Regions from separate parts of the Homo sapiens genome. Here regions 2, 3, 4, 5, 6 and 7 are each linked to region 1. The links are contacts of gene promoters, found by promoter capture Hi-C in blood cells and fetal thymus (Javierre and others, 2016). All regions are on one chromosome and are shown on one strand. The core of a region is centred on a gene start or on the middle of the fragment in contact, and the rest is flanking DNA. Distances in the headings are between cores, read along the strand shown. Region 1 holds the start of RPL34 (ribosomal protein L34). Region 2 overlaps PAPSS1 (3'-phosphoadenosine 5'-phosphosulfate synthase 1). Region 3 overlaps SEC24B (SEC24 homolog B, COPII component). Region 4 has its middle 10 kb from the start of SEC24B. Region 5 holds the start of SGMS2 (sphingomyelin synthase 2). Region 6 has its middle 30 kb from the start of SEC24B. Region 7 overlaps LOC107986298 (a long non-coding RNA gene).

Region 1 (3,149 bases), core at 221-2,720:
AAAATTTTCAGAAATACTTACAGCCTAGTTTTGTTAGAGGCTGTATTGTAGGAAAGCCTACGTCGGTATGTCAAACGCTGGACCATTCTGAGTGCCTAAATTAAGAATAGAGTAACATCAAATCTTTCCATTGTAAAAGTAAATAAAATCTCAAAACAGTATCATGTGGTCTATTTCATTCACATACATATCCTTGTATGTAACACCCTTAAATTAAGATGTATTATTCCACATTTTAAAACTACTTGTATTTAAAGGTGACTGATAAACAAGAGGCCAAGAATGTTAGCTTTCCTGATGGTAATCAAACGTGGCACTTCCTTAACGTTCTGATGACCAGGCTCCTTACTCAGAGTCTAATTTTGTTTGGAGTGGTGTCCAGAAAAGTGCCACGAGCCCAGTTGGAGAAACACCGCTTTAAACAAAGAGCACAAAAAGTGAGCTCTGAAGTCGAATCCTTAGCTATGCCATTTACTGGGAATATAAAGGGCAAGGAGCTAGCCTCCTTATCTCTAACATGGGAATTCTGTCTACTTTATACAGCTGTCATTAGGATTAAACGACGTGGGCTATCCGTCCCAACACAATGCCTGGCACATATCAGGGTTCAATGTCTTGCCCTAAAGCACCACCTGCGTAAAGGCATACCCTTTAATACTAATTTTGATATTACACAAGTTTCTTTGGGTTATGGCACCTGCTTTCTTCCCACTTCTGGAAACATCGTGATGTTATTTAGCAAATCGGTTATACAGATATGCATACGAGCAACTTCGTTAAGGGAACTACCCAACGTAAAACATAATCAATACTTGAACTAATTTAATCTTCCCATTCCACCCCTTGTAACCACCTCATTTGTTGTCACAAGCCTCTCACTAAAATTAAACTAAAACAGAATTACCAGACACCAAAACTTGACACGTAAAACCAGTGCGAGTGATTTATGAAGCCATTATTCTGTTTGCATCTCCAAAAGCAAGACAGAAACTTCTAACACATTTTTCTCTTCCTTGACATGGGCCTTGGACGCAGAAGCCAAATAGCGAAACCACCCGAACTCGCCGGACCCTGCCCTCCCAAAGACTAAGGACACGTACAGGCGTGCTGTGAAAACGTGGGTGTAAAATATGAAAACGTTTGGCGATTTTCCAGACTCAAACCGCCAAACCACAACTCGTTAGTCTCCAAACGCTACACTTGGAATGCAGCAAAGTCCCGGGTGGTGAGCTGTGGCTACTCACGGCTTTGGAGGTGCCACCAGGAACAAGGGATTTCCAAAGATCAAAGTAAGGAACTTCCTCACCACCAACCTCCCTGTTGTGCCCCTTACCCCTACACCAGCTCAAAGGACTGCTTCTGAGAGCTCTAGGCTTCCTCAGCTCCTCGGATGGCAGCCGATTGGTAAGGAAATAAAGACAGGGAAAAGAGAACAACATCCATACCTGCAGACAACGTCCCCGGAAGAGGAAGAAAAAAGCCTTTGCCAGTTCAAAGGTCAAATAGAATTGCGCAGGACAGGAAGTTGCGTCAGAGAGAGAGTATCCGTGTTGTACGGAAGCCGACGCACCTCTCCGACGTGGGCAGAGATGCAGGGAACCACCACGTTGTACGGCAACCAACGTGCCGCCCCTCTGTGGGCGGGGATTCACACTAGCTGTCTGTGTCAAGGCCACGCAGAAATCTATTGGAAATCGCTGTGGAAACAAACGCAAATGAAAAGCCGCAAAGAGCAAAGGTGGGACAAAATCAACTTCTTTCGTTGTCATGGACACTGCACTTTTAATCTAAAGGGCGCCAGCTCTGGCGTTAGACCTGGGTTTAAATCCCAACTCTTGACATTTATGGTTAAGGGACCTTCAAGGACCAGGGACCTTCAAGAACCTTCCCTTCTTCAACCTTCCCTTCTCTTTCCTTGTCATTTATTCAGAGCACAAGCTTTACAAACAAATTGGGATTTTAATCCAGTGTCTGCTAATTATTAGCTATGTTACTTTGAGCAAGCCCTTAAATCTCTAAAAGGAAGATATTAGGAACTACCGTGCCATGTTATGTCATGATCAAAGGCATTATGAAGTTAAAGCACTTAGCACAGGGTCTTATAGAGAGGAAGTGCTCAGTAAATGGTTGCTAATCTTATGATTATGTACAAAGAACTACTTGAGGCTTTTCATGGGTGGTAAAGTTTAACCTTTAAAACAGTATGTAAAATTTTACATTAAGCGCACGTGTGTATTTTTCTGAGAAGAGGGTCCCTGGCTTTCATCACCTTGTCAAAGGGATTCATGACCTCTAAAAAAGTAAAGAACTCTTTGCCTGGGCTGTAAAAGACAATTCTAAAAGGGGCCTTTAAGTTTTTAATCTTAGATCAGGCTCCCTGGAAACACACCTCGAAGAGACTTGAGTGTTGGCTTATGGGGAGCGCTCTTAGAATGCACCTCCAGGAAGCTGAGAAAGGCGGGGTCAGGTGATCCACAACGTGGTTGCTGTGAGGCAGCTGCATTGCCCCAGAAGAGAGGATTTGGATAGGATATCCCAGTACCCACTCAACTTTCCTTCTAGTATTTCTAATCCATCTAGCAAACCAAGAAAGCAGGCAAGTGACTGAGGGCATGTAGTCTGTCTTGAACTGTGAGGCCTATTGATTCTATCAAGCCTCACATCACTGCCATCTTTGTCACAACACCAGATGGAAGGCTCTGGTTATATCCTTCCCTCTGCTCACTCTCAAATAGCTGCTTCTCCCCCGACCTTGTCATCAGCTACTTCCCTCCTTTCCAGTCCTTTGATTTTTGTCCTCTGAAATCCTTTTCGTCTCTGTGCCAGGCATTGAGATGGAAGCTTGCATAGAGAGACAAATGTGGTTTTTGAATAAATGCACTAATGAATGTATTTACTTGCAATATGTTCTCTATATTTTAAGAGAGACTTTGCAGAGCAGAAGAGAACAGGAGATGGGAGCCCTTGGCACACTATGCTGTTGTTTACGTCTCTGTCCGTGCCTTCCCCCACCCAAGTAGATAAGAATAGTGGTCTCATTGTTGTAGTTTTCCCTTAAGGTACTTAACCCAGTTCCATAATACTATTTTTCCCTCTCTTTAAATTTGTATTTGCATTTTTTCTTGATCAGTCTTGAGAGAGATATGGCA
Region 2 (3,149 bases), core at 343-2,842, 910 kb after region 1:
CTGAACAGGAGACTTTTATTATTGAACAAATCAGCCTTCCTCAAAATTTAGAGGCCAGAGTTTTTTAAGGATAGTTTGGTTGGCAAGGCAATGGGTGCAGCCAGTTCGTTGGGGATGTAATCATAGGGGTGTGGAAGATAGTCCTAGTGTGTTAAGTACACTTCTGGTTGGGAGCACACAGGTGGTTGGTGGGTCCAGGTGGAGCCATTGAGAGTCAGAAATGCAAAAACCTGAAAAGACATCTCAAAAGGCCAATCTTAGGTTCTACAATAGCGATGTCATCTGCAGGAGTAACTGGGGAAGTTGAAAATCTTGTGACTTCTGGAATAGTGGCTGGTAATCATTTATGTTTACACCTTGGGAGGATTCAGGCTCCTCTCATCTCCTAACCTGGTGGTCTTTTATTAGCTTTAAAAGATGGTTTACTTTTGGGGAAGTAGTATTATCATTTAAACTAAAAACTAAATTTCTCCCAAAGTTAGCTTGACCCAAACCCAGCAATACCTAAGGGCAGTTTGGAGGTTAAAGGCAAGATGGAGGTTGGTTAGATCAGATCTTTTTCACTGTTAACAATTTTCTCACTTGTAATTTTTGCAAAGGCTGTTTCAATTCCAGTAGTTTTATAAAAGTGCTCTTTGATTTACTTTGAAAAATTGGGAGTTAGGACAATGTGGCAATTTTTTTTAAGTTTATTTTTTAATATGAAAAATATTGTTAAAAACTTTAGCTGAATTAAATTTAAAAGAGTTTGAGCAAAGAACAATTCGTGAATCAGGCAGCCTCCTGAGCCAGAGTAGGCTCAGAGGCTCCAGTGCAGCTGCATGGTAGAAGATTTATGGACAGAAAAAGGAAAGTGGTGCACAGAAAATGGAAGTGAGGTCCAGAAACAACTGGATTGGTTATAGCTCAGCATTTGACTTATTTGAACATGGTTTGAACAGTTGGCCACATTTGATTGGCCAAAACTCAGTCATTGGCACAAGGGTGGATACAGTCTGTTTGTCTCCAGCTAGGTTAGTTTAGTACATATGGAGAAACCTTTAGGCTGAACTTAAAATATGTAAAAGAGGTAGCTTTAGGCTTAACTTGATTTAACAATATCAAACATACATAAACCAAAAAAAATCTCCTTATATCCAGAGTACTATGTTTGCTGCCAGAATCTTTTTAAATGTAGGAGGCAAGAAACTGAGGGAGCATTCTTTTTAGAGATTAAAACAGACGGTCTCTACTTACCCTGTCTGTATTTTTTCTCAGCCATATTCTCAGCAGTTGATAGCTTGACAGATAATTTTTATGCATTCTAGCTTGATTTGATAAGAAAAGCAGAAGATATTTTACAGAGCCCAAATCAATTAAAATTCATTAGATATATGTTTCTTCTTGTCTATAAAGAGTGAAGTAACTTGGAAAAATCCTCAAACAAAATGACCAAGCCAAACAGGTTCTACCAGTATAGGCAGCAAAATGTGTATAGCACCCTCTGCAATTCCCTTTTAGCAGAGACTTTAGCTCCCTTTTCCTCCTTAGCCAGTATCAATGGGAGCTAAAGCTAAAGAGGTGCCACTGCTTCTCAAGATATACAAATGTCTACTTCTGAAGCCCTCTTTTTTAAGTTCTTGGAAATGTAGAGCTGGTAAGTTGTATTTGCTTCATCAGTTTATTGAAAAGAAATGAATCTAGAGACTCATTACAATTTTTTGTAAGTGATTATTAAATATGTAAAAGTATTTTATTGGAAATAAAGTATTAATAATTATTGTGTAAATAATTATTGTTAATGAGATGAGTAGATGGGAAGGGGTGCAGCTTTTGTGGCATACCTATTAAAAAGAGTTGTCAAATTGTCCCTTTGGTCCCAGAGGATTTTTCAGGTAATGGTAATGATGATAATAAGATTCAGATGTGTGGGAGATGGCATTTCTGCTGTACAGGATTGTGAAGGGGAAGGTAGGAAAAGAGATCCTTAATCTCATGGAAGTTGAAGATTTGTATAGAAATTTAATTCCTTAAAAGTCAAATCTGTGTATTGGTGGAGGTCAGCAAAATGACAGAATGGGACTTCCCAGTGCTTGTCTTCACACAGAAACATAAATTGAACAACTATTCTTGCACAAAAATACTTTAATAAAAGCTAAGGAAACCAGGTGAGAGATGACCGCACCTGGATGTAGCAGAGAAATCAGAAAAAACACATTGAAGAGAGTAGAAAGAACAGTTTTACATGACCTATATTACTGCCCCCAGCCTGCAACCTCAGGCAGCACGTGGAGAAAGATACCCTTTGCTTAGGGGAGGAAGAGGGCAGTAAGCAAAAGATTTTGCCTCAGAACCCAACACCAGGCCCACCTCAGTGAAACTCAGTGCAAGGCAGGCCCCCGTAGCCCCAGACTCCAGGATGGTACCTATGGATTGAGCGTCCAAGCCTACCCTGGTACTAAGCAGGATTCTGCAGCCCAAGGTTCCAGCTCCTCCAACCTCCACCACCAGGCCAGACCCAATTGATGCAAGTTTTAGACTTGTCTTAGGGCCAGGCTGGCCCCAGTGGCCCTGGGCTTAGAGCTACCTTTAGTACCAGGCTGGCTGTCACAGGCAGGCACCTGTGGATACAGGCTTCAAGCTGTCCCAGCTTCAGGCCCTCTCCAGGTTTCAGACCAGCTGAGAGCCAGGTTGGCCCACACAGCCCTGGGCTTCAGGTCTGCCCCAGTACAAGGCCATTCCCTGTAGCCCCACCCTCCAGGCTGGCTGCTGCAACCCCATACTTAAGAGATCCAAGGTTTCAGGACCATCCCAATACATCTCAGCACTATACCAGCTCCCATTGACCCAGGCTGTAAGACCATTTCTGTGGACCCAGGTTCCAGGCCAGCACCCATATGCTGAGCATCTAGGTCAGCTCCCATGGCTTCAGGGCAGGTCCTGTGATTCTAGGTAGGCTTCAGACCAACCACTGTAGACCTAGGCTTCCACATCCGCTCCAGCACCAGCTGAGCTCTGCCTACCTGCTGACCCAGATACCAGGCCAGCCTCCCTGAGGACTCCAGCAGCAAGCCTGCCTGTGCACCATGCCAGATGGCCTTCCCAGATTGGACAGGCTGACTGGTGAAGTGCTTCCCAAATAAAGCCAGTCTACAAAGACTGGAATCAGT
Region 3 (3,149 bases), core at 200-2,699, 820 kb before region 1:
ATTGCACTCCCCAAATTGCCCAATACAATGCCTTACATAAGCATCAAATAATCACTGAAAAACTAAAACAGGCTGGGTGCGGTGGCTCACACCTGTGATCCCAGCACTTTGGGAGGCTGAGGCAGGGGGATTGCTTGAGTCCAGGAGTTTGAGACCAGCCCAGGCAACATAGTAAGACTTCATCTCTACAAACATGAAATAAAAAATTACGCAGGTGTGGTGGTTTGTGCCTGTAGTCCCAGTAACTTGGGAGGCTGAGGTGCTAGGCTTGCTTCAGCCCAGGAGATTGAGGCCGCAGTGAGCCAAGATTGCACCACTGCACTCCAGCCTGGGTGACAGAGTGAGACCCTGTCTCAAAAAAATAAATAAAATAAAATAATAAAAATAACAGGCTGGGTGCCGTGGCTCACGCCTGTAATCCCAGCACTTTGGGAGGCTGAGACGGGCGGATCACGAGGTCAGATCGAGACCATCCTGGCTAACACAGTGAAACACCATCTCTACTAAAAATCCAAAAAAAAAAAAAAAAAATTAGCTGGGCGTGGTGGCGGGCGCCTGTTGTCCCAGCTGCTTGGGAGGCTGAGGCAGGAGAATGGTGTGAAGCTGGGAGGCGGAGCTTGCAGTGAGCCGAGATTGCACCACTGCACTCCAGTCTGGGCGACAGAACAAGACTCCGTCTCAAAAAAAAAAAAAAAAAAACAAAGAAAGAAAGAAAAAACTAAAAAAATGGCCAGACGTGCTTGTAATCCCAGCACTTTGGGAGGCTGAGGCAGCAGACTGCTTGAGTCCAGGAGTTCAAGACCAGCCTGGACAACAGAGTGAAACTCCATCTCTACAAAAATTACATAAAATTAGATAGGTGTAGTGGCGCACACCTGTAGTCCCAGCTACTCAAGAGGCTGAGGTGGGAGGATCACCTGACCCCAGGAGATCGAGGTTGCAGTGAGCAGTGATCGCTCCAGCTTGGGTGACAGAGTGAGACCCTGTGTCAAAACAAAAACAAACAAAACAAAAAAATTCAGTTTTTATATAATCTCTGAAAGAATTTTATATTCTTAGCTTCAAGTGAACTATGTCAAATAAAAGAGGGAAACAGATGATTCTGACACATTATCTACTCACTGGTACCAATCTGAATGAAGAAATAAAATATTTTTAACAAATGGTCTATAATATTTTCAATGGAGCTGCTCAGCTGGTCAGCCTGACTGATATATCATGTGCCAGCAAGATACAGCCTATGATTTTCTATAAGCATGTATGCCCTCCTTAGCAGGACTAAATTATCACAAGATCTACCCCCAGGACATATCTGTCTCAGTAGCATAACCTCCTTTCAGACACCAGATTCTCACCAAAGGAAAACTGATTCTCTTGCTTTAAGAAAACCTAACATGAAAATTAAAATTTATAAAACAAATATTTCATGCAAGTCTAGTCCCTGTACCAAAAAAAAAAAAAAAAAAAAATCACAGGATCTCTTTAGGGCATATGAAATACGATTTGGTTTGAAAAATTCTCTACCTGACTTCCCTTTATTCTACTTTCACTTCCCTCTAATTCATTACTAACACCACCAGAGTACTTTTTAACATTCCTTACCACACAATCTTTAATGGCTCTTCTTTGATCCAAATGAAGTCTAAACTTCTTAGGACAATTTCTAGGAACTTCCATTAGCAGCCCCAACATAATTGTAAAAACTATTCTTTTTTTTTTTTTTTTTTGAGATGGAGTTTAGCTCTTGTTGCCCAGGCGATGGCATGATCACGGTTCACTGCAACCTCCACCTCCCGGGTTCCAACAATTCTCCAGCCACAGCCTCCCAAATAGCTGGGATTACATGCACTCGCCACTACACCCAGCTAGTTTTGTATTTTTAGTAGAGATGGGTTTTTACCACGTTGGCCAGGCTGGTCTCGAACTCCTGACCTCAGGTGATCCACCCACCTCAGCCTCCCAAAGTGCTGGGATTACAGGCATGAGCCACCACACCGGGCCCAAACCATTCTTTCATTACTCTCTCTCCCTTGTACCCCTGCACTGCTCAGAGTACGTTTTTTAAATTCCTTACCTTTGATTCATGCATTTTTACCTGACAATTCAAAATGTGTCCATCATTTTAGATATAGCTGAAGTTCTAACTTCCTCCCTTAAGATTCCCTATTACTTTAACCAAAAAGAATTGTTTCCTCTTCAAAACTCTGGGCACCCTTCTCACAGGCCTTATGAAGGAAACACATGTTCAGTGCTGACAGTCCTCTCCTCTTTTACTGAGGGGTACAGAACTCCTGGAGTGCAGAGAACATTCACATTTGTATGCCCAGAGTATCTAGCACAAAATGTTATGTAAAGAGGAGCTACATAAATATTTGCTAGGAATTGTAAATTAAATTTATAGGCCAGGCATGGTGGTTCATGCCTGTAATCCCAGCACTCTGGGAGGCAGAGGTTGGAGGGTCACTTGAGCCTAGGAGTTTGAGACCATCCCAGGCAACACAGTGAGATCTCGTCTCTAAAATAAAAGTTATATATAACTGTTAGGATTACATATGCATTGCATAAAATAAGGTTCAGGTGTTTAAGATCAAAATTGATGGTAAATGAGATAATCGGAGGGACAAAGTTCTTAAAAGAGAGGGAACAGAATTCTGTACCCAAATAATCTGAATTTGTCTCAGATAACACAAGAATAATATGCAGGAAGACTGACAGATTTGGTGGCAGAAGATTAATACTTTATCTTCAGATTGTCAGATTGCTTTCAATTTCTTAGTAAAATAAGTAAGGTCACCATTGGAAAGGGAGGCAGAGAGACAGGATACTGAGAATTTGAGGGAAAAGGGGAGCATGTGACACTGGGAATGGAGCAGGGAAATACCACAGGACTAACTGGTACTGAGAGCTCACTTAAGAGATATTACCATAAATATAAAGTTGGAGAAACTTCAAGGAAAATAAAGCATCAACATTGGATTATTCTAATATTACAATACAGCCATTTTATAGGGAAAAAAACATTTGACATAAAAAGGTTACCAAACCTAGTAAAAATGTGCAAAATTGATAAATGAGTAATATAAACATACAGGAAAACACAAAAATAAAGCAAGTTACCTGAATAAGATTGTAACAGTCATGATTTCCAC
Region 4 (3,149 bases), core at 371-2,870, 800 kb before region 1:
CCAGCCCTACAGGGCCTGTGGGTTTTTCCTTAGTGTGCAGAGATGAGAGATTGTAGAAAAATAGACATGAGACAAAGAAATAGAAGGAAACACAGCTGGGCCCAGGGGACCACTACCACCAATGCGCGAAGCCTGGTAGTGACCCTGAATGCCTGGACACACTGCTATTTATTGTATGCAAGGCAAGGGGGCAGGGTAAGGAGTTTGAGTCATCTCAAATGATTAATAAGGTCAAGCAAGTCACGTGTCCACGTGACGGGGGGCCTTTCCCTTTGTGATAGCTGAAGCAGAGAGGGAGGACAGTATATGTCAGCATTTCTTCTGTGCACTTATCAGGAAGATCAAAGACTTTAGTACTTTCACTAATTTTGTTACTGCTATCTTTTAAGAACTTAAAAGGAGGTGCCAGGTGTACAGGCAGAACATGAAAGTGGACAAGGAGCATGACCACTGAAGCACAGCACCACAGATGTTTAAGCCTCCAGATGACTGCGGGCAGGCCTGGCTAATGTCAGGACTCCCACAAGAGTTGGTGGAGCAGTGTTCTCTAACTCCCCCCGGGGAAAGGGAGACTCGCTTTCCCGGTCTGCTAAGTAACGGGTGCCTTCCCAGGCACTGGCGCTACCGCTAGACCAAGGTCTGCCGAGTAACGGGTGCCTTCCCAGGCACTGGCCCTACCGCTAGACCAAGGTCTGCCAAGTAATGGGTGCTTTCCCAGGCACTGACCTTACCGCTAGACCAAGGAACCCTCAAGCGGCCCTTATCCGGGCGTGACAGAGGGCTCACACTCTTGTCCTTTGGTTACTTCTCACCATGTCCCTTCAGCTCCTGACTCTGTATGGCCTGGTGTTTTCTAGGTTATGATTATAAAACAGAGATTATTATAATACTAAAAGAGCAACACTACCAACTAAAGATTGATAATATTCATATATAATCATGTCTATATCTTATTTTTAGTATAACTTTTTGTATTCTAATTATTTTCTTTTATTATACTGGAACAGCTTGTGCCTTCAGTCTCTTGCCTCAGCACCTGGGTGGCTTTCCGCCCACAAGTAGAGATGGGGTTTCTGCATGTTGGTCAGGCTGGTCTCGAACTCCCGACCTCAGGTGATCCACCTGCCTCGGCCTCCCAAAGTGCTGAGATTATAGGCATGAGCCACCGTGCCCAGCCTGCTTACTTTCAAAATAAGGTAAAAGTCTGAGGAAAAAATAATAGTTCCCATTTCTGGAGCATTTAGGCTGTGCCAGGCATTGTTCTATGTATGTTCATGTATTATTTCCTCAAAAAAGTACACACTTTAATTCTGCAGATGAGAAATCTGAAACTCAAAGAGATTGAGAATCTTCTCCACACACATGATTATCCCAATAATCTGGTGAGTTGAATGAGAAATAGAAGTCAAAGAGGAAGAAGGCAGGGTTGCCTGAAAGATTCCAGAATCTGGATATAAAGGTGCATTCTCCAGCAGCTGCTGATGGCCACTAACAGGATTTTCTCTTATATATCTTAGTTGGGCATGAAGGGTATGAGAGATTTCAAGCATACTGAGGAATGACACTTTCAATTGCTTCCCCAGCCAAGTAGCTTCAATGGACAGATTACCCAGAATTTAAAACAAGAAAAAATATAATCTAATTAGATCACTTATATTACTTTGTCATTGCCATATCTTTCTAACAATTTAAAAAAAAATGGACTTTTAAAAAAAGCCCCGTATCTGAGGCTCTAAAATCCAACAGTCCTCTTCGTTTTAATGCTTAATTTTGTTTTTGTTTTTGTTTTGAGATGGAGTCTCGCTCTGTCACCAGGCTGGAGTGCAATGGCGCAATCTCAGCTCACTGCAACCTCCGCCTCCCCGGTTCAAGCAATTCTCCTGCCTCAGCCTCCCGAAATGATTAGTTTTACAAACAGACCAGAAGCGGGGCGCAGTGGCTCACGCCTGTAATCCCAGCACTTTAGGAGGCCGAGGTGGGCGGATCACAAGGTCAGGAGTCTGAGACCAACCTGGCCAATATGATGAAACCCCGTCTCTACTAAAAATACAAAAATTAGCCCGTAGTGGTGGCCTGCGCCTGTAGTCCCAGGGCTTGGGAGGCTGAGGCAGGAGAATCGCTTGAACCCGGGAAGCGGAAGTTGCAGTGAGCCAGGATCGCGCTGCTGCACTCCAGCCTGGGCGACAGAGCGAAACTCCGTCTTAAACAAACGAACAAACAAAAAACAAAAACAAACAAACAAAAACCCAAAACAAAAAAACCAGACCAGAAAGCCCCAACCCGCTTTTCCATCTGGACGCTCTTCCTACGTAGTCTACAATGTCGGTGGGCTTCCACCGCCATCTGGTGGACGATGTGTAGATGTGCTCTGACTTGAGGAGACTTCGCTGGCGTGGAGAGGAATGTGATTAATGAGAAGAGTTTTCCATTCATGCAATTGATTTGAAAGCAATGCATAGGAATCTAAAAACTGAATAGATAAAAGTGCTTACTTCTAGGCAATCAAAAAGGGGAACAATTTGTATGTGTTGACTTATTGACTAGGATGAGATGGAACCAAATAAATTAACATTTTCTTTAATGCTGCTAGAATCCTTCAACTTCGCACTACATAGCATGCAACACTTTTTGAACAGTCCCAGCACCATGAATCTGCTTAAGTAAAGCTGTTTATGCAGTCGTCTCATCTGAGAGTACAGGAAACTCTGTATCTACATCCATTTCTGTTTATCTTTATAGTCCCCTTGTCCCACACCTAAAATTTCAACATTAAGAATCTACTTTCTCACTGGGGCCTGTCAGGGGGAGTGGGGGAAGGGAGAGCACCAGGAAAAATAGTTAATGCATGCTGGACTTAGTACCTAGATGATGGGTTGATAGATGCAGCAAACCACCATGGCACATGTTTACCTATGTAAAAAACCTGCACATCCCATACATGTACCCTGGAACTTAAAATCATAAAATAAAATAAAAAGAATCTACTTTCTGAGCTGGGCGCGGTGGCTCACATCTGTAATCCCACCACTTTAGGAGGCTAAGCTGGGAGGATCACTTGATCTTAGTTGTCCAAGACCAGCCTGGGCAACAGAATAAGATCCTGTCTTTATTACAAAAAGAATCTACTCTGTTCTGATAACACTGTACTA
Region 5 (3,149 bases), core at 262-2,761, 800 kb after region 1:
TGACACAGGATGGAAACCATAACCTTCTCAGGTATCCGTACTAAAAATGTTTAACTTGCTGAAAACATCACTTCCCAATCTAAGGAACTTGCCAAAGGATTTCACATGCTAACCCTCGGCCCACCAGGCTTATAAGGAGGACATTCTGTGGAAATTAATTGGTTATTACCTAAGCCAGCTGCAACACACTATTATTTATATATAAACAGCTATAATTTGTTGGGGTCTGCTTTGTACCAGACATTATGAGAAGTCTTTTGCGCTTTAATCCTCATTATTATCCTCATTATTAATCCTTATTTAATCCACCTTATTATCTGAAGTAGCTATAATCCCATTTTACTGGTTCAGAATGTTTAATGTGCCTGAGCACCCACCGTTAATAGAGGAGACTGGTAATGAAACCAAGGATTTGAAAAGTTAGGTACAGATTGAAAACCCACGCCGAATCCAGTGACACTAAACAGTTGAATCTCTTCAAAATATAACACACATGTCAAAATGATTTTAAGGTCATTTCAGAGCAGGCAAGACTTGAAATAGAGGACCGGCAACATTAATAAATAAAAAAGACTACAGGACATAACATTTTGAGTTGGTTTCAAGCCGTGGATAATTAATGATTATCCATACCTCTGGATGGATGTTGACAGGGGTTCCCCGCCCCTTATTTTCGCTGAGAAACCAAGTCTTCCCTTCCGTAAAGGGAGCAGCTCTGGAATGCCACACGTTGAAGGGTTTCGGTGTGGGCTGCCCAGAGCTGGGCTGTTACTGTTCACACATCATCAGTAAGTGCCTCTCAAAAAAAAAAAAAAAAAAAAAGAGAAAGAAAAGAAAAACCACACACACAAACACACACACACAGTCCCTCCTCCACCAACTGAACTTCAGCCCTGACCTCCGGAGTGGTTCTGGACAATCTGGGGTTTAACCTGTGCCCTTCCAACGCCAGGACCGGGGTACCCGAAATGGGTTGCAAATGAATGAGATGACTGCTCAGAGGAAGGAGACTAAGGCACACATCTCTCCTCCAGACCACAAAATCGAGGAAGCATGCCCTGGGCGGGGAGGGTGGGGGCCGGATTAGAGCCACGTCCCCGCTTCGCAATCCACCTTTCCCCTCCCGCGCTTCGGAGGACTCTCCGCTCCCCAGCCCATCCTCCTCCTGGCCCCTCCGCGCGCTCCTTACCCGCTGGTGGCCAGGGCTCCAGACACTCCCAGCTGAAGGCACTTGCTCCCGGGAAGGGGATTTGCCAGGGGATGGAGCCCGCTGCCGCAGCCGCCGCGACCAGCCCCGGGCGTCACCACCCTCGGGCCGAAGCCGCTAGAAAGTTTGCTCGGGGTCTCGCCCTCCCACGCCGCGGCCTGACTAGGGGAAGCAGCTCTCCGGGTCCCTCCCGCGGCCGCCGCCCCCGAGGCCGCACTCGGCGGCGCTGCAGCACCGGCCAGGCTCCGTGCGCGCCGAGGGCTGGGTCTCCCCGCCCCACTCGGCCCACGGCGCGGCGCTCAGTGTTGACCGCGGCCCCGCGCCCGCTCTCCCCGCCCGCCGCGCGCGGCCCGCTCCCTGCGCCCTGCGCCCAGCGCGCTCTTGACATCATTCATTCTCTCACACCCTCGCCCGCCCACTCCATTTCCAAACAGTGACTCACCCGTCGGCCCGGTGGCAGCAGTGCCCGTTCCTGCTGCCGTGGCTCTCCTGGCGCAGAGTGGAGCTCGAAAAACCTGCGCGACTTCTTAAGAAGAAAATCCCAGCCGACTCTCCCCTCGCGGCTGTTTAAGGTGCAGAGAAGGAGGGGCTTGGCAGGCAGGGCAGTTTGGCTCCCGGCCGAAAGGCTGAGGGCCTGGAGCTGACCTCCCTGAGCGGCAACAGAGATCAATCTGGGAAAGTTCTTTGGGTGCCACTCCCAGCAACTTTCAGGGGTGGGGCTGGAACGGGATCCCCCACCCCCGCACCCGGCCTGTTTCGGAAACTGCTTCCTGACGGCGTGTGAGTGGGCTTGGGAGCGCCAGCGTTGATTCAGAGGGTTTATCGGTGTTGACCGGGCCTAGGTCAAAGAGGTGGGTTTCCAAACCTCACAGCGTTGCCTGGCAAGGTTAGTCATCAGTCCGCATGGTATGAGCTGGAAGGTTGCTCCAAGCTAATGAGGTGGCAGCACTGTCCCTTTCGTGCCTAACCATCGTGTCATTTGTCCTGTTAATTGATTTACTTCTCACTTAAGGAATCGTAACCAAAATAAACAGTGTAAGTAGTTATTTGCTTAACTGAATACTGCGCTTTTCCGCAGCTTTTGGGGCCCAAGGCAGCCGTGTGGTTTCTTCGAAGGCCTCAGTAGTTTTTTAAAAGGGGGATTGCTGTCTTTAAAATGGTAATGGTTCTACATTGTCCTGGAGTTGCTATTCATACACCTGCTGGGCAGTTTTCAAAGTAAACGATGGCAGCCTCAAGGACTCTAACTAGGAATGACCAATCCGAGGGAATGTGGCTAAATCTTTCTTGACATAAGTTTTACATTAATGTCTCCTTCTGGACAAGATAATTATGTTTAGGATTTGCGCTGGTTTATGGGTGCTTCCATATAATCAACAAAAATAATGACGGGAATCTTTGGGTTTCTAGTGCAGATATCATGTGGGTCAACAGTCATTTGTGGCTATTAAAGATGATGGTAACAGAAAAGAATATACAAGGCAGGCAATCCCCAAACTCGCAACTTCAAGATGTCGTCACAGTACAGGCAACCAAAGAAAATGGACAAATGGGATCATATTAAGCTAAAAAGCTTCTGCACAGCAAAGGAAACAAACTGAAGAGACAACCCACAGAATGGGAACTATCCATCTGACAAGGGATTAATAACCAGAATATATGAGGAGCTCCAACAACTCTATAGGAAAAAAAAATCTAATAGTCCGAGTAATAAATGGGCAAAAGATTTGAATAGACATTTCTCAAAAGAAGACATACAAATAGCAAACAGGTATATGAAAAGGTGCTCAGGCAATAAATACTGGCGAGGTTGTGGAAAAAAAAAGGAACCCTTGTGTTTGTGGGAATGTAAAAAGTATAACCACTATGGAGAACAGTATGGAAGTTCCTCATAAAACTAAAAATAGAGATACCGTATGACCTAGCAATCTCACTGCTAGGT
Region 6 (3,149 bases), core at 404-2,903, 780 kb before region 1:
TATGTTCTTATACTTTCCCTGTAATATGTTCTGTCATTTTACTAATGCTGAAAGTCTATCCAATAGACCTGGACTCATCACAAATAAAAATTTAGAGTTTCACAGAAATGGGTAAAGAGCAATTAGTATTTTCATTAAGAACTAACAAATATAAAGATCAAATTAGGGTTTTTTTTTCTTGGCCCTTGTTTATAATATGCACTAAAAATTACTATTGTACTTAGGAAGTATTTTTAATATTGAAGTTGACCTAAATTGTACTGAAATACTTGAACCTTCTGGTTGGGTCATATGGTATGGACTGTGTGCCACATAAAAATGCCTTTTATGTATTAATTGTGCCTATATTTCTTTAGCATCTGCCTCTCTCATTGGACTATAGACACCACAAAGACTGTTTTATGTCAACAGTGTCTATATAAATAGGTGCTTAAAATTTTTTGTAGAATCAACTGGCAAATGAATAAATGATGATAAACATTGCTGAATTAAATAAATGAAATATAAGCCAGGGCTAAATTCAACCTTAGTAAACAAATTTGTGAACTGTGAGCCATCCAGACTATTCCTAAGACTGAGTGTAGAAGTCCACTGGTAGGAGACTTCTACCAGTTTACATTTAAGATCTTAAGGAACTTACCATCTTGGTTGTTTCCTAAACTTTCTAGATCCTTAACTTCTACTGCAGAATACAGTTTTTAGCTTTCTTGCTTTCTTTTCTTTCTTTCTTTCTTTCTCTTTCTTTCTTTCTTTCTTTCTTTCTTTCTTTCTTTCTTTCTTTCTTTCTTTCCTTCTTTCTTCTTTCTTTCTTTCCTTCCTTCCTTCCTTCTTTCCTTCCTTCCTTCTTTCCCTCCTTCCTTCTCTCTCTTTCTTCCTTCTCTTTCTTTCTTTCTTTCTTTCTTTCTTTCTTTCTTTCTTTCTTTCTTTCTTTCTTTCTTTCCTCTCTCTCTCTCTCTTTCTCTCCTTCCTTCCTTCTTTCTTTTTTTTTTTCTGGAGTCTCACTCTGTCACCCAGGCTGGAGTGCAGTGGTGAGATCTTGGCTCATTGCAATCTCCGTCTCCCGGGTTCAAGCAATTCTCCTGCCTCAGCCTCCTGGGTAGCTGGGATTACAGGCGTGTGCCACAATGCCTGGCTAATTTTTGTATTTTTAGTAGAGATGGAGTTTTGCCATGTTGGCCAGGCTGGTCTCAAACTCCTGACCTCAAGTGATTCGCCCGTCTCGGCCTCCCAGAGTGTTGGGATTACAGGTGTGAGCCACCGCGCCTGGCCAACACCTTGTTTCCTGACTCTGCTGTTTCATGACAATAAACCCAACATTCAGATAACCAATAGCTGCATAATACTTTCCAATTTCATCTATGATCTCTAGTCTCACTAGATATGCCAGGTCCATGTCAATAAGCATTATTGTCACCCAGGCTGTAGCGCAGTGGCATGATCACAGCTCACTGCAGCCTTGACTGCTGGGGCTCAAGCGATCCTCTGCCTCAGCCTCTTGAGGAGCTAGGACCACAGCACATGCCACCACACCCAGCTAGTTTTTTTAAAAAAAATATTTGTAGAGACAAGGTTTTGCTGTGTTGCTCAGGCTGTTGTCGAACTCCTGGCCTCAAGTGATCCTCCTGCCTTGGCCTCCCAAAGTGCTGGGATTACAGGCGTGAACCACGGGGCCCAACCTTGTGTTTGGTTCTGTGCTAGTATTCTACATACACCATGATGTTTTATTCCTTTATGCCTTTATTAATTGTGATTTCACCACCTTGAATACTTTTTCCTTCCTTCTTTACTTGTGTAACTGCTATACATTCTTTAAGGCTTATCTCGGGCATTACTAGCTCCATAAATCCTTTCTTGAGGCACAAAGCTGGAGTCCCATAAGCTGCTAAACATAGCTCTATTGGAGAACTTAGTATATTTTGTTTTGGTACACATAAACATTACCTGTTTATACATCCATGTTTTCCATTAGATATGAGTTCCTCAAAGTAAAGCAATCAGAAGCACATTAAAGAGAAATACCTCCTATTTCCATTATCAAATATACAAACCTACTTGTTTCAGTATCCAAATACTCTGTCTTACTTCCAAGAGAAATGGATGGACAGCCATTGATTCAGCTAAGGCCGATTCATCTGTTTGGGCACTTCCCTTGCACTTGATTTACAGTTTGTCTAGGTATAGAATTCTACTTTGGAAATAGTTTTCTTTCAGGAGTTTGAAGCCATTGCTTCATTGTCTTCTTGCTTCCGGTGTTGCTAAGAAATCTAAATCATTCCTATCATTCCTTCTTTGTTTATAAAAAGAACTCTGTATTATAGAAAATTTAAAATATGTTCAAAGAGAATTATATGATGAATATATAATATAATGAATTCCCATGTACCCATCACTCCACAATTGTCAATGTATAGCCAGTTGCATTGCCTCTACAGCACATCCCCCACTTCTGACCTTTTAATTATTTTATTTTATTTGTTTATTTACTTCCTTTTTTGAGGCAGGGTCTGGCTCTGTCACTCAGGCTGGAGTGTAGTGGTGCGATCATGGTTCACTGCAGCTTTGAACTCCTGGCCTCAAGGAATCCTCCCACCTCAGACTCCTGAGTAGTTGGGATTATAGGTGTGCACCACCACGCCTGGCTAATTTTCTGTAGAGATGGGGTTTTGCCATGTGGCCCAGGCTGGTCTCAAACTCCTGGGCTAAAGCAGTCTGCCCACCTCGGCCTCTCAAAGTGTTGGGATTACAGGTGTGAGCCACCACACATGGCCAACTTTCAATTATTTTAAATCAAAATCCAGAATTACTCTGTTTTATTGTAAATATTCAGTATTTTTCTCTAAAAGAGATAAAGGATCATATTTCCAATCCTTTGCATGTAATTAGTTTTATTCTCTCTGAGAGTTTAGGAAATTATTTTTCTTCTTAGAGTTCTGAAATTTTATGATATGTCCATTGTGCCTGTTTTTCTGTGGGCCTTTTCTATCTGTAATCTCATGTTCTTTGCTTCCAAGAAATGTTCTTGAATTGTTTCATTGATGATTTCTTTGCCCCATTACTCAGATGTTGGACCTCTTAGAATGGTACTCTAACTTTCTTTCCTTTCTGTTTTTCATCACTTTGATTTTTGGTTCCACTTTTCTGACAGATTT
Region 7 (3,149 bases), core at 290-2,789, 650 kb after region 1:
AATAGTTCCATTTCAATGAATTTGAAAAATGTTTTATATTATTGGCCATTTGTATTCCTAAAAATTTTTGGCCAGGCATGGTGGCTGATGCCTGTAATCCCAGCACTTTGGAGGCTGAGGCAGGTGGATCACTTGAGGCCAGGAGTTCGAGACCAGTCTGGCCAACAGGGTGAAACCTTGTCTCTACTAAAAATATAAAAATTAGCTGGGGGTGGTGGCACGTGCCTGTAATCCCAGTTACTCGGGAGGCTGAGGCACAAGAATTGCTTGAACCTAGGAGGTGGAGGTTGCAGTGAATCGAGTTTGAGCCACTGCACTCCAGCCTGGGTGACAGAGAGAGACTGTCTCAAAAAAAAAATTATATCTCAAAAATTAACTCAAGATGGATTAAAGACTTAAATGTAAAACCCAAAACTATAAAAACTCTAGAAGATAACCTAGGCAATACCATTCAGGACATAGGCACTGGCAAAGATTTCATGATAAACATACCAAAAGCAATTGCAACAAAAGCAAAAATTGACAAATGGGATCTAATTAAACTAAAGAGGTTCTATACAGCAAAAGAGACTATCAACAGAGTAAACAGACAACCCACAGAATGGGAGAAAAATTTTGCAAACTACATTCAACAAAGGTCTGATATCAAAAGTCTATAAGGAACTTAAACAAATTTACAAGAAAAAACAAACAATCTCATTAAAAAGTGGGCAAAGGATATGAACAGACACTTCTCAAAAGAAGACATACATGTGGCCAACAATTATATAAAAAAGCTCAGTATCGCTAATCATTAGAGAAATGCAAATCAAAACCACAGTGAGAAACCATTTCACACCAGTAAGATTGGCTGTTAAGAAAATAAAAAAATAACAGATGCTAGTGAGGTTGTGGAGAAAAAGGAATGCTTATACATTGTTGATGGGAGTGTAAATTAGTTCAACCATTGTGGAAGACAGTGTGGTGATTCCTCAGAGACCTAAAGACAGAACTACTTTTTGAGCCAGCAATCTATTACTGGATATATACCCAAAGGAATATAAATCATTATATTATAAAGACACATGCACACATGTTCATTGCAGCACTATTCACAATAGCAAAAACATGGAGTCAATCTAAATGCCCATCAATGATAGACTGGGTAAAGAAAATGTGGTACATATACAACATGGAATACTATGCAGCCATAAAAAAGAATGAGATCATATCCTTCACAGGGATGTGGATGGAGCTGGAGGCCATTATCCTTAGCAAACTAATGCAGGAACAGAAAACCAAATACCTCATGCTCTCACTTATAAGTGGGAGCTAAATGATAAGAACACATGGACACATAGAGGGGAACAACACACACTGGGGCCTATCTCAAGGTGGAGGGTGGGAGGAGGGAGAGGATCAGGAAAAATCACTAATGGGTACTAGGTTTAATACCTGGGTGATGAAATAATCTGTACAATAAACCCCCATAGAAGTGACTATGTTGTCTGGGGTATATACCCTGGGGTTCATGGTCGTGCACCAGGAAAATGTTAAGACATGGACAAACAAGAGGAGTTTAGGAGTGGAGGTTTAATAGGCAGAAGAGAAGAGAAAGAGAAACAGCTTTCTCTATAGAGAGAGTGGGGTCCCTGAATGGAAAAGACCTGCAGGTGGCATTGAATTTTATAGTCAGGTTTGAGGAGGCAGTGTCTGATTTACAAAGGGTTCACAGATAGGTTCGATCAGGTATGACATTTACATAGCAGATGGGGAAAGGCCGGTTGTCTCACCCTAATCTTATTATGCAAATGGGCTTTCCAGTTGATCTGAGCCATCTTGTCTGCTTCTTACTGTACACATGGCTGGCAGAGAAGGGAAGATGAAGCTGCCATCTTAAACATGTCTAGCCCCTAGTTCCTGCCAGCATTCACCCATGCAAGCTCCCAGCTTCCTCGTCTATGTCTGCCGCTTGACTTTACAGGCTGCTCTTTGTTAGACAATGATTTGGGGCTGCTTTTCATTAAAGAGAAAAGCCTTACCGAGGACTTCTGTACCCTCACTATCTGCCTAAGTGATTTCTTCTTAACTCCTGTATCACCATGACACAGTTATCCTATGTAACAAACCTGCACATGTACCCCTGAACTTAAAAGTTTAACACAATAATTTGTATCTTTTGCCTGTTTTTAAAATTAGGGTATTCTACTACTGAATTATAGCACTTACAGTTCACTAGAAGAAATACTATGCTATAGTATATGAAAATATTAAAGATACTATATATTATAGTATATATGGATTTATAAGCACTGACTTATAAGCACTTTATATATTAAGGATATTGAATTTTTGGCAAGGCTGATACAAACATTTTTTCATGATTTGCCAGCCGTTTTTTGGAATACAAGAGTTTTCTATTTTTATGTCATTAAGTGTATGCTGTTTTAGTTTTCTGATTGATTCTATTATTTTTTTAAGAGTTGGATTTTTTCTTTTTTTCTTTAAACAGCCTTATTGAAGAACATTGATGGATAAAAATTGTACATATTTAAGGTATACAACTTGATGTTTTGATGTATGTATACATTGTGAAATGGTCTTCACAATCAAACCAATTAACATATCTATCACCTCACCAAGTTACCATTTTCTTTTTCTTCTTTTATTATTATCTTTTTTTGTGGCAAAAACATTTAAGATCTACTTCTTAGAAAATTTCAAGTAAGGAATATTGTTAATCATAGCCACCAGGCTGTACATTAGATCTGTAGAACGTATTCATCCTGCATATTGAAACTTTTTATCCTTTGACCAGCATTACCGTTTCTCCCTCCCTACTGCCCCTGGCAACCACCATTCGCTTTATAATTCTATGAGTGCGACTATTTTAGGTTTCACACATCAATGGGATCAAGCAGTATTTGTTTTTCTGTGTCTGCCTTATTTCATTTAGCATAATATCCTCCAGGTTCATCCATGTTGTTGCAAATGGCAAAATTTCATTCTTTCCTGAGGCTGAATAATATTCCATTGTGTGTGTGTGTGTGTGTGTGTGTGTGTGTGTGTACACCACATTTTCTTTTATCCATTCATCCATCAGTGGATACTTACACTCTTTTCATATCTTAGCTGTTGTGAATAATGCTGCAGTGAACATGGGAGTGCAG

What was found. Contacts are between HindIII fragments. The CHiCAGO score rates a contact against its expected background, and 5 or more counts as called.
Region 2: a fragment that was not itself captured here is called in contact with the fragment with the promoter of RPL34 in region 1 in 3 of 17 cell types (naive B cells, total B cells and monocytes); the score reaches 7.7 in naive B cells.
Region 3: a fragment that was not itself captured here is called in contact with the fragment with the promoter of RPL34 in region 1 in 1 of 17 cell types (monocytes); the score reaches 5.8 in monocytes.
Region 4: a contact is called between a fragment that was not itself captured here and the fragment with the promoter of RPL34 in region 1, in 1 of 17 cell types (monocytes). The highest score is 6.6, in monocytes.
Region 5: the fragment with the promoter of SGMS2 here is called in contact with the fragment with the promoter of RPL34 in region 1 in 2 of 17 cell types (M2 macrophages and M0 macrophages); the score reaches 7.6 in M2 macrophages.
Region 6: a contact is called between a fragment that was not itself captured here and the fragment with the promoter of RPL34 in region 1, in 1 of 17 cell types (naive CD8 T cells). The highest score is 5.1, in naive CD8 T cells.
Region 7: a fragment that was not itself captured here is called in contact with the fragment with the promoter of RPL34 in region 1 in 2 of 17 cell types (non-activated CD4 T cells and naive CD8 T cells); the score reaches 5.4 in non-activated CD4 T cells.

Annotation. Positions count from the first base shown.
Region 1 is chr4:108,618,897-108,622,045 of GRCh38, reverse strand. RPL34 (ribosomal protein L34) reads right to left here and starts at 1,470. Exons shown (of 5, transcript NM_001319236.2): 1 at 1,446-1,470; 2 at 22-95. The coding sequence starts at 86. RPL34-DT (RPL34 divergent transcript) reads left to right here and starts at 1,589. Exons shown (of 4, transcript NR_026968.1): 1 at 1,589-1,738. RefSeq lists enhancers at 1,458-1,507, 733-1,932. The HindIII fragment of the contact is 3,742 bases long and covers 1-1,940 here.
Region 2 is chr4:107,706,731-107,709,879 of GRCh38, reverse strand. The region is part of intron 1 of PAPSS1 (3'-phosphoadenosine 5'-phosphosulfate synthase 1); the gene reads left to right. Among named protein-coding and RNA genes, the nearest start is that of PAPSS1, 12 kb to the left of the region's middle. The HindIII fragment of the contact is 3,967 bases long and covers 1-3,149 here.
Region 3 is chr4:109,442,793-109,445,941 of GRCh38, reverse strand. All of the region lies in intron 1 of SEC24B (SEC24 homolog B, COPII component), which reads right to left. Among named protein-coding and RNA genes, the nearest start is that of SEC24B-AS1, 11 kb to the right of the region's middle. The HindIII fragment of the contact is 4,493 bases long and covers 1-3,149 here.
Region 4 is chr4:109,421,778-109,424,926 of GRCh38, reverse strand. No RefSeq gene overlaps it. Among named protein-coding and RNA genes, the nearest start is that of SEC24B, 10 kb to the left of the region's middle. The HindIII fragment of the contact is 4,993 bases long and covers 1-3,149 here.
Region 5 is chr4:107,823,294-107,826,442 of GRCh38, reverse strand. It overlaps SGMS2 (sphingomyelin synthase 2), which reads right to left and starts at 1,511. Exons shown (of 7, transcript NM_001375905.1): 1 at 1,190-1,511. The HindIII fragment of the contact is 3,698 bases long and covers 1-2,782 here.
Region 6 is chr4:109,402,100-109,405,248 of GRCh38, reverse strand. No RefSeq gene overlaps it. Among named protein-coding and RNA genes, the nearest start is that of SEC24B, 30 kb to the left of the region's middle. The HindIII fragment of the contact is 3,341 bases long and covers 1-3,149 here.
Region 7 is chr4:107,965,749-107,968,897 of GRCh38, reverse strand. The region is part of intron 1 of LOC107986298 (a long non-coding RNA gene); the gene reads left to right. Among named protein-coding and RNA genes, the nearest start is that of HADH, 23 kb to the left of the region's middle. The HindIII fragment of the contact is 4,481 bases long and covers 1-3,149 here.